Regions from separate parts of the Homo sapiens genome. Here all the other regions are linked to region 1. Evidence: promoter capture Hi-C in human tissues and cell types (Jung and others, 2019). All regions are on one chromosome and are shown on one strand. Each heading gives the region's core, a stretch centred on a gene start or on the middle of the fragment in contact. The rest is flanking DNA. Distances are from core to core; before and after follow the strand shown.

The links. Contacts are between HindIII fragments. The study calls those that stand out against the background at their distance.
Region 2: a contact is called between a fragment that was not itself captured here and the fragment with the promoter of AIP in region 1, in 1 of the 25 tissues and cell types used here (dorsolateral prefrontal cortex).
Region 3: a fragment that was not itself captured here is called in contact with the fragment with the promoter of AIP in region 1 in 1 of the 25 tissues and cell types used here (spleen).

The regions. Positions count from the first base shown.
Region 1 is chr11:67,481,724-67,485,398 of GRCh38, forward strand. AIP (AHR interacting HSP90 co-chaperone) reads left to right here and starts at 1,303. Exons shown (of 6, transcript NM_003977.4): 1 at 1,303-1,534. The coding sequence starts at 1,436. RefSeq lists enhancers at 1,145-1,204, 3,352-3,401. The HindIII fragment of the contact is 17,225 bases long and covers 805-3,675 here.
Region 2 is chr11:66,704,660-66,708,158 of GRCh38, forward strand. SPTBN2 (spectrin beta, non-erythrocytic 2) reads right to left here. Exons shown (of 38, transcript NM_006946.4): 12 at 3,482-3,499; 13 at 2,857-3,159; 14 at 1,025-1,178; 15 at 1-809. Among named protein-coding and RNA genes, the nearest start is that of SPTBN2, 23 kb to the right of the region's middle. The HindIII fragment of the contact is 6,421 bases long and covers 1-3,499 here.
Region 3 is chr11:66,637,034-66,640,741 of GRCh38, forward strand. All of the region lies in intron 1 of RBM14-RBM4 (RBM14-RBM4 readthrough), which reads left to right. It overlaps RBM4 (RNA binding motif protein 4), which reads left to right and starts at 1,670. Exons shown (of 4, transcript NM_002896.4): 1 at 1,670-1,719; 2 at 2,667-3,090. The coding sequence starts at 2,679. RefSeq lists enhancers at 1,121-1,834, 1,599-1,968, 1,835-2,546. The HindIII fragment of the contact is 5,623 bases long and covers 1-3,708 here.

The sequences.
Region 1 (3,675 bases), core at 53-2,552:
GCCTCAGCCTGCTGAGTAGCTGGGACCACAGGCGTGCACCACCACACCACCTAATTTTTTGTATTTTTGGTGAAGATGGTATTTTGCCATGTTGTCCAGGCTGGTCTTGAACTTGTGAGCTCAAGGAGATCCAGGAGATCCACTTGCCTTGGCCTCCCAAAGTGCTGGTATTAGAGGCATAAGCCACCACACCTGCCCCATACTGATGCATTTTTACATGACATTAGTGAATTCAATTAGCCTAGTATTTTATTTAGAATGTTTCATATCAGCTGGGCGCTGTGGCTCACGCCTGTAATCCCAGCACTTTGGGAGGCCGAGGTGGGCGGATCACGAGGTCCGGAGATTGAGACCATCCTGGCTAACACGGTGAAACCCTGTCTCTACTAAAAATACAAAAAATTAGCCGGGCATGGTGGCGGGCGCCTGTAGTCCCAGCTGCTCGGGAGGCTGAGGCAGGAGAATGGCGTGAACCCGGGAGGCAGAGCTTGCAGTGAGCTGAAATTGTGCCACTGCACTCCAGCGTGGGTGACAGAGCGAGACTCCGTCTCAAAAAAAGAAAAACAAAAGTTGTTTTAGCCCCAAAGTACCTCATTTCTCTTTTCTTTTAATTTAATTTTTTTTTTTTGTTTTGTTTTGAGACAGCATCTCGCTCTGTCGGCTAGCCTGGAGTGCAGTGGCACGAACACGGCCCACTGCAGCCTCGAACTCCTGGGCTCAAGCGATCCTCTCGCCTCGGCCTCCCAAAGTGGTGGGGTTACAGGGCCACCGCGCCCGGCGCTAAAGTACCTCATTTCTATCATTCATCGATTATTCCCTAATATTAATTGGGCACAACTATGACTCATTTCCGACCCCGCAATGGGCTCTCTTGGTCTCCTTCTCCACCTTTCTTTCCCTCTTCCTCTTTTTATTTTTTGAAAGAGGAAGATCCAGGATGCAAGAGTCCCGACAATCATACTAGATATGCGAAAGAGAAAAAGCCGGAAGAAAATACACAAAAATCATAACACTTTGAGGGTGTGGCTTACGGGTGTTTTTTTTTTTTTTCATTTTCCTAACTCTGCAGTGCTGTTATATTCCATCCACAACTTCAAACAAAGTGCCACACGGCCGCAGTCCCAATCAATTCAATGACAATTGTTAGGGACGTCCTCGTCCCGCCCGGCCCGCGGACCCCGGCCCTTCCTCCTTGACAGGCTGGGGTCCAGCCCCGAGACATTCCTAGGCTCCGCCCCCGAGCAGACGCGCGCGCTCAGCCCCAGCGCAGAGAACCAATCACCATCCGTTTCCACGCTCAGTCCCTTTTGGCTTCTGCCCTCAACCAAAATGGCGCTAGCTCGGAAGCTGCCGAGGTGCTAGGAGTTGCCGAAGCAAGTCCGGAAGCTACCGAGCGAGTCCGGAAGTTGCCGAAAGGGAGCAGCGGGGAAGGAGGATGGCGGATATCATCGCAAGACTCCGGGAGGACGGGATCCAAAAACGTGTGATACAGGAAGGCCGAGGAGAGCTCCCGGACTTTCAAGATGGGACCAAGGTTCGTGTCTACCCTACCCTTCTCCCCCTCTGCGGCGTGGTGCGCATGCGAGGCGGGAGGAGGCCTTAGGCGAGAGGTTGCGCATGCCCAGAGGGCAGCGTCCACTGCCCCTACCGCTCACATGCAGAACTCGACGCTGATTGGGCTGAATTTAAGTAGGGGGTGAATTCGGGCCTGTCTGCCCCGCCCCCTGGCTCGGCCTTGTAGCAGCATTGGTGGGGGAGGCCGTCAGTCATCACAAGCGGGTTGGGGTTGGGGGTTGATCTCAGTGCTTGGGCAGACCCCACGCTGGAGGAAACCCAGGGCCGGGAGTGGTCCTCGGGTATCTGGGTTTCAAGGCTCATGATCCTTTGTAGATGGAAGGGCCTTCTGAAAACACTTAGACCAACTGCCGCTGTTTAGAGTGGAAAACCAAGACCCTGGGACGTGCAAAGCCGGAGAACGGGCCCAGAGGTCAGGTCTCCCAGACAGGGACTCTTTAGCAGCCTTCCTGCTGCACTAGGGGCTTGTTGGGACAGATGAGGGTTGGGAAGTAAAGAACCTCCCACTTTTCTCCTTTTTGCCAGGCCCCCAGATCCAGCCCCTCTGCCCGCTTCTCCCCCAACCTACAACTCCAGGCTTCCCTGCTTCTCCTGTAGTTGCCTCCTCCCGGAGTGCTTTTCCCAGCTGCCACTTGTTTGCAGAGTAGGGAACCTCCCAGGGGCAGCCCCTGTGCCCAGCAGAGCAGTCAGGCAGGACATGCACATTGAGCAAATGAGCACATGCCCCCTGGCCAGCACCGTGCCGAATCGGGCAGCTAAGCATCCTAGCCCAGTGCAGTATAAGTGCCCTGAGAGCAGAGGGGAGCTGCATGGCTGGAGTGATCCGCTGTATGAAAAGATATCTTCTCTAAGAAGAGACAGGATGTGTGGTGTGGGTTCATGCCCCCATGTGCTGGGGGGTTGGTGGCGTTGGAAGAAGGGGCTGGCAAGGGGGATCCTGGATGGAACAGACATCAGAAGGAGAGATGTGAACAATGGCACCCCAAGATCAGAAACAGGTGGTGTTAAATAACCAATCGCCAGCACTGATTGAGTGCTCACTATTCGAACATTGTGCTACATGCTTCACACGTTTATTTCCTACAATGTGAGATAGGTACTGTTGTTGATTCCGTTTTACCGATGTGGAAACTGACTTCAGAGATGCAGCATGGTGCGGCAGTTAAGAGCGTGGGCTCCTCTAACCATATCCTGTCGAGAGTTCAATCTCCAAACCTCTTTTCTCTGCACCCACCCCCAGTGTTATCTCTAAAAACTCTCCCTGCCCGGATTACTCCCAGATGCAGCTCTCCAGTCATTAACTGTCTCTTAAACCTGATATATAGCTCCCTACTCACCATATCCACCTGGAAGCCTGGTTGGCAACTCACACTTAACCTGCTCCACCTGAGGCTTCTCCGTGTCAGGGGAACCAACAACCTTCCCGTTGTTCAGGGCAAAAACCTTAGCATCTCTGTGGTCCTCCCAGTCTCACATCCAACATCACATCCTCAATATCCAGCCAGGATCTGAGTTCTCACCACTTCTGCCATCACTGCTTGGGTCCAGGCCATCCTCATCTCCAGCCTGGGTTACTGCAGCGACCTCTAACTCTCCTGCCTCTTTTGTCCCTCTGTGGTCTGTTCTCGTCCCAGCAGCCGAGCCCATGCCAGATTCAATTCCTTTTTTGCTCGGAGCCACTCAGTGGCTTCCATCACAGAGTGAAAAACAGAGGCCTCACCATAGCCTACAGGCCCTGTGAGGTCCACCCCTACTGACCTGGGTGAGCTCCCCTGCTGACCCTGTGGTGTACCCCACCCCCTCCTTCACTCTGCTCTGCCACACTGGCATTGCTGCTCTTGAACACATCATGCATTTGAAACGGGAAGTTCCCTTGTCTCCCTCGCAGGGCGTGCGATGGGGGAGTGGCTCGCTTCTTCAGTGCCCCGCTGCTCAGACCTCTGGGGGAGCATACAGATGGGCAGGCTGTGGGCTCCGACCTCATGGCAGTGTCTAGGGGTGAATATTTACAGCTCCGTGTGTTCTAGGGTGCTCTTTTAGTTTGTCTATGGGAGGCTTGTGTTAACCAGCTCAATTAGACCCCCTTCCTTATCACAAGGA
Region 2 (3,499 bases), core at 1,000-3,499, 780 kb before region 1:
CTCCTTCTCCTCCACCCAGAGTCCACAGGCCCCGGCCTCGCTGAGCATGGTGTAGAGCGCCAGGGCTGCCTCCAAGGCCCGCGCTCGCTCGCCTGCCCGGGCCTGCAGCTCCTCGTAGTGCCGCTCCAGGGTGGGCACCCGGCTCTGCACCTCGGGCGTGCGGCTCAGTGTGGGGGGCAGGGCTGCTGCCTGTTCCCTCAAGGCGTCCAGGGTTGGCCGGTGGCTTCGAATCTCCTCCTCCAGGGCCCGATGCTGCCTGGCTAGAGCCTGCGTGGAGAACTCGTCGTGCCCCAGCTCGGGGCTGGACACCAGGCGCAGTGCGTCAACCAACCAGGCCTCCATGTCGTTTGCATCGGCCTGGAACTGGTAGAGGCTGGCGGCTTGGGCCAGCCGCTGGGCACGCTCCTCGGCCAGGGCCTCTAGCCGCTCCCACTGGGCTTGGAGTTCAGCTGCACGGGCAGAGGCCTGGCTTGCCCCAGGGTGACCCTCGGCCACCAACTGCTGGCCCTGCTCCAGGGTGAGCTTCAGGGGCCCCAGCCGGCCGCTCATCTCGCCCCGCAGGGCTGTGTGCTTGTTGAGCAGGCGGAGGGCACCGGTCAGGTCTCGGCCCGTGTCGGCTGAGGCCAGGAGGTGCTGCTGCTCCCGCACCCAGGCCTCAGCTTCACCCACCTCCCAGAGGAAACGCCAGAGCCGCCGTGATTCCTCCAGCCGGGCCCGCCGCGCCGCTGCCAACTCGCACAGTGCCTCATAGCTCTGCTCTAGCTTGGCCACCCGCTCCGACACCAGCTGCGGGTCGCAAGGTCTATACTCTGAGAAAGTCACAGGAGAGGGTCAGAGCCTTAACCCAGCCCTCCGGCTGCTCCCTGCCACCACACTCTCTTGGACTTCCCTCCCTGGCTTTAGCTCAGTCACCATCGTTTGGCCACCATCTTTCCCGTCCCCAGGTTTCCCAACCCTTCCACCTCGGCTCTTGATGTGCTCCTTCCCAGCCCCTCCCTCTCCAGTGCCTTCGCTGACTTCTCACCTTTCCCTGGGTTGCAGAAGCGCAGGGCAGAGGCGCTGACGGCCCGCACCCTCTCGGCCTGCACGGCGATGTCTGCCTCCACCAGCTCGTGCAGCTGCAGCAGGTCCTCCACTCCTGCTAGGTGCCTGCCCAGGTCCTGAGACTGCAGCCGGCCCTGCCAGGCACACATGAAGTGCACATGCCCGCCTGAGCACAGACGCGCTAACCTGGCTGCGTTTTTCTTCCAACTTCTCCACGGCCCCAGGTGTTGCACCCAGGTGAGAAACCTGCTTGCTCACACATACTTGAGATACCCCAGTTCTGCCCTGGCACCCCGACCTCCTTATCCTGAACTCCCCTGCTGTGGAACAATGTTCTAACTAACTCCTGCTCTTGGAAGCTTTGCTGTGACTAATCTTCTCAGCCTCAGAATCATCGACACCCTCCTGCCGCCACCGCTCCGCCCCAGCACCCAGCAGCCTTCCTTCCACATCTCTCCCCAATCCACCCTCCTAGCCGCTGCCCGCCTGGAAGATGGCAGCAACCTCTAACGGTCTCGCTGTCATGCTGCCTGCCCACAGGCCTTCTTCAGAGTAGCCAAAGTGACTTTTTTACAAACATAAGGTACAATCAAATCTCTCCCCCTCTCAAAACCTTCTAATCACTTTATTTATTTATTTATTTTGAGATGGAGTCTCGCTCCTGTAGTGCAGGCTGGAGTGCAGTAGCACAATCTCAGTTCACTGCAACCTCCACCTCCCAGGTCCAAGCAATTCTCCTTCCTCAGCCTCCTGACTAGCTGGGATTACAGGCGTGTGCCACCACACTCAGCTAATTTTTGTATTTTTAGCAGAGATGGGGTTTCACCATGTTGGCCAGGCTGGTCTTGGACTCCTGACCTCAGGTGATCCGCCCGCCTCGGCCTCCCAAAGTCTTAGGATTATAGGCGTGAGCCACCTTGCCTAGCTGCTTTTTTTTTTTTTTTTTGACTGAGTCTTGCTCTATCACCTAGGCTGGAGTGCAGTGGTGCAATCTTGGCTCACTGCAACCTCCGCCTCCTGGGTTCAAGCGATTCTGCTGTCTCAGCCTCCTGAGTAGCTGGGACTACAGGCATGCGCTACCACCGCACCTGGTTAATTTCTGTATTTTTATAGACACGGGGTTTCACCATGTTGGCCAGGCTGGTCTTGAACTCCTGACCTCAAGTGATCTGCCTGCCTTGGCCTCCCAAAGAGCTGGGATTACAGGCATGAGCCACTGCGCCTGGCCCCTTCAAATCACTTTAAAGGATCCATGTTACTTTGAATAAAATCCAAACTCCCTGACCAGGCCTGTAAGGCCCTAGTGGGCTGGCCGTGCCCTCCCAAATCTCAGTCCATGGCCCCCACTCCTCATGCTCACAGCCCACCGGCCTTCCTTCTGATCCTGAACACACCATGCTGATCCAGGCCGAGGGCCTGTGCCGGCTGTTCCTTCTGCCCGGAACATTCTCTCCTGAGAGCTCTCTGTGCTGGCTCCTGGCACTATTCTGGTCTCGGCTTAAATGGTATTTTCTCAGAGGCCTTGTCTGACCAGCCCCTCACACCACCCTGTTCCAGTTTCATCAGTGGTTTTATGGCCCCTGCTCTTTTGTTTACGGAAAGGTCCGTGGGTTTTGTCATCAGCCTCCTCCATGTGGACACGAACCCCATGTGGACAGGGCCCTGTTTACTTTGTTCCCTGCAACTGGGGACAGGGCCCTGTGCTGGTTCACACTCCACAGAGATCGGCCGAGCAGACGGGCGGACGCACCCACTGTGGGGCCCCCTCGACTCTTGATCACTCTTACCCCACCCAGCACGCCTCACTGGTACCTTCATCTCTTCCATCCAGTCCATGAGGTAGAGCAGGTCCTGGAACACCTTCTGCAGCTCCAGGTTGAGGAGGAGCCGCTCCCGCCGGGCGGCCACCATCTGCCGCAAGAAGTCCCAGAGCCGTGCCACGTTGTGCTGCCGAGCGGCGATGCGCTTGATGTCGTGGTAGCGCTCGGCGGCCAGCTCTGCAGCCACGGCGTCCACTGCCTGCACCCGGCCGCTGTAGGCCACGATGTCCGTCTCAATGGCTTCGTGCTTCCGTACTGCTGCCTCGACAGCTGCCAGCTCCAGCCCAAAGTTGTCCTGTGTCGGGGGCAGGGAGAGGAGGTGTGGGGACCAAGGGACAGTGCCTCTGCCTGCTCCTCTGTCCTGCAGGGCACTTGGCCTGCAAGATCCCAGCTCCATGCGGTGGCTCTAAGTTCCCTCTCTATCCCACCCCCATCCTGTCTCACCAACCCTCTCTCCTGTCCCACCCTCTGGCCCCTGGCTCCCGGACCTCTAGGCCTTTTTACCCAGGTGACGGATTTTGTGTTTCATTGTCTCTCCACCCCGCGGGGCTTCTTATCCACCCTGTCTCTCTCCCAGTTCTGACCAGCCTAAGCATCCTAGGAGCCTCAAGTCCTACCTGGGACACGAGGCGCTG
Region 3 (3,708 bases), core at 871-3,370, 840 kb before region 1:
TAGCTTTTTCTACCCTAGGATAAATTATTGACCAGTTTTCTGCAGTCAGATTCCTGAATCATGTTGGGTTTTTTTTTTTTTTAGTTTCACTCTTGTCGTCCAGGCCACTCTTGTCTTGCCTCACTGCAACCTCTGCCTCCCGGGTTCAAGCGATTCTCCTGCCTCAGCCTCCTGAGTAGCTGGGATTACAGGGGCCTGCCACCACATTGGGCTAATTTTTGTATTTTTAGTGGAGATGGCGTTCACCATGTTGGCTAGGCTGGTCTTGAACTCCTGACCTCAGGTGATCCGCCCGCCTCGGCCTCCCAAAGTGCTGGGATTACAGGCGTGGGCCACCGCACCTGGCCCTCGTGTTGGGTTTTAAAACCCACTCTTTTTTTTCCCCCCCAAACTCTGACTTCACCTTTCTCTTTATGAAACCGTTCTCTTTTTGGGGCGGGGGTGGTGGTGAAGAAGCTGCTTTGGATGGTGGTGTGTGGTACTTGTGTCATCTTCACTCCTGATGATCCCTTTCCTCATAAACTCTGCACTGCTTTTAGCCTGTTTTGTTCGTGTTATAAGTTCTTCCATCCAGTCCCTGCACTCCACCTTTTAACCCTTTTCAAAAGCTGCTTCGCAAAGGGTCTTGACTAAAGTTGCTTGCTTAATGAATATGAAGCAGCCTAAGGATGAGAGAAAACGAGGCAGCAGCTGGACCCTCTGGAGAATGTTACTTTGTATTTTGTTTACAGCTGGTTGTGACTAAGCTCTGTCCTCTAAAGTCGGTTCTAGGGGATTAAAACAGCTCTGGCTGATGGCGCCCAATAAAATAAAACAAAAAAACCTTTGCTGCTCCAGTTTTTTCTCAGGGTGGGGTCGGGGTATACTTTAAATCTCCATGGTCTCAGAAAGGTTTCTTCATCGCGGACCCTGGGAGGCTGGTTCCCAGAGGGAACTTGTCCTCAGCGTCTCCTGGACAGTGCAGCCTCCTGCCGGGCCTACTTCTGGAAGGCCATTACAGAGGTCCTTTCACCACCTGTGAGAGGTTTGATTTTGGGGGAGCTCCGGGACTCTCAAGGCTACAGTGTGGACTGCTGGCCCAAGGAGAAGGTTGGTTTCCTGAAGTGGTGGGTGGTGGGTTGGGGGGGGTCTTCGTTGTTTTTCTTCCCTGGCATGTGCCTGCATAAGCTATTTCCACAGCGTCCTGGCCGCGAGGGGGGGTGGTGCTTGGGAGGTTAGAGGGAGACACCTAGAGTGAACGGCAAAATGGAGCGCGGAATACTGTCTGGCTGTGCACGTGGAGGTGGCGAAATGTGGAAGCTTAACGAAGTTGGCGCCATGAAGCTAAAGACTGCTACCCCGGGGCTCTAGCTCGCTCCGCCTAATGGCGGGCCGCACCCCGCCGGCGAAGCCCACGTTTGTAGGTCCGCCCTCACGCTGATCTCTTGCCCAATCAGCGAGTTCGGCTTCGCGAGGTTGGTGCCCATTGGCTTTCGCATAAAAGCTCCGAGGTTACAGACGTTTCCACCTCTTGCCGGCCTCTTAGGTAATTGGCGTCCGTGGTAACCAATCAGGAAGAGGATCTGAGGGAACGCCGGCCTTTTACTTTCTTGAGTGGCCAATCCGGTTGTAGGCTCACCTCCCCCTTCTACTCAGAGCACTGCTGCGGCCGCCGCCATTTTAGCGTTTTGTCAGAAGCGTCCGCGCCGCGAGGAGGAGGCCCTGCTGGTTTCTGTGCGGGTGAGACTCCGAGCCTTTCCACTGCCTTTCTTGTACTGTGTTAAATCTTCTCTCACTCCCTTGGGCTTCGGGGGTGTCCTGGTAGGTCCGCAGTCTCCACACCCGTCACTGAGAGCCGACCTCGGTCCTCGGCATTGCGCGGTAAGCCGGGAGCAGCCCTTCCCCCACCGCCCCCTGAGAATACCTTGCTTTTTTTCGCCCACCCTGTCCCGCGCCCGACATGGCTGCTCTTGGAGCCTCGAGATTTCCACTGGGATAACCCCCTTTCCCTTATATCTGACAGTTACATTCTCGTTTCGGGAATTTCTCGGGCCGTGAGACATCGTCTGGTTAATGAATCTGAAGCTCTTTTCCGCGGCCGCGCATTTCAGTGTTCGGCAGGAGCTAGGACGGTGCCCCGAGAGAGGCGTTCACCACTCCAGTATTTCCTTTATCTCCCACTCCTCGCTGTCTGATCCGAGTCGCGCGTTCATTACTTCCAAAGGAAACTCAAATGTAGCTATTACAAGGCCCATTTTCCCGGAAATGATGGCTGCTTTGGTTCCTACGTGAGGAAAAGCCTGTTGATAATTTCAGGCAGGCAGTCAGCAAGCCTAGTAGACTTTTGTTTTCTGTTGTCCTCCTAGTGGATAGAAAAGCCTAGTACCCCCATTTCTTCATATGCTGTCTTTCATGCCCATTTCTGTTGGAAGGTATCGGTTCTTACCAAACCCTTTGTCTACTAAGGACCTCCCTATTGCAGACGTCTTCTTATTCTTACAGGTTCATGGCGGCTACTATAGCAGGCCTTAGTTCACTCCCACTTCCATTTGATTATTGTGTGGAGGTGTGTGTGCAGGCGTGTGAGAGAGAAAACTGGAAATATACATTAGAGTGAAAGTCGTTGTCTTTTGTGAACGGATGTGGGCCTGAGGTCTTTTGTCAGATGTCTTGTTTTTCTCTCCCAGGCTCTTGTCAGGATGGTGAAGCTGTTCATCGGAAACCTGCCCCGGGAGGCTACAGAGCAGGAGATTCGCTCACTCTTCGAGCAGTATGGGAAGGTGCTGGAATGTGACATCATTAAGAATTACGGCTTTGTGCACATAGAAGACAAGACGGCAGCTGAGGATGCCATACGCAACCTGCACCATTACAAGCTTCATGGGGTGAACATCAACGTGGAAGCCAGCAAGAATAAGAGCAAAACCTCAACAAAGTTGCATGTGGGCAACATCAGTCCCACCTGCACCAATAAGGAGCTTCGAGCCAAGTTTGAGGAGTATGGTCCGGTCATCGAATGTGACATCGTGAAAGATTATGCCTTCGTACACATGGAGCGGGCAGAGGATGCAGTGGAGGCCATCAGGGGCCTTGATAACACAGAGTTTCAAGGTGAACCACCCTCTTTGGGTAGAGGGCTGAACACAAGGCTGTGTGCAGAAAATGGTTGGATAAGTAAAAGGAGAGGTTTGGTAAAGATAACAGCTGTTGGCTGGCTGGTGATGAAGAAATAAGTGTGGGTGATGGACTTCTTATGATGTAGAATGCATGGGACTTAGGGGCTTTACCTTAGGCAAATGTCTCCTGGAGAAAAGCCACTCACCTTTTATTTGGAGCCCCTACGGCTTTTGTGCTTATCAGTGCAGAAACCCTTTTCTTTGAAGGCTTTCTGAGTTACTGGGCCTTTTTTATTTTTTATTTTTTTGTAGTAGAGCACAGTTCAGAGTTCCTCACTCTGAATTTATTGCCCTCAGCACAGGATCAGAATTCTGCATTTTACGTGAAGAACCTCTCAAAAACATGTCAAGCGACACTTATAGGACCAGAATCCTTGTTAAGCTGTCCTACCTTACACAAACTCTTTAAAGGGTTACAGCTCTTGTTGCTTTTATATTATACCTGTACCAAGGGATTGTATTTTGAGTTTAAGGCCACTCTAGAATTACAAGGCTGATTTTAGGACTTCCTGGGGAGGAGGCACTGGGGTTTTAGGGGCGGTAATGACTGTCT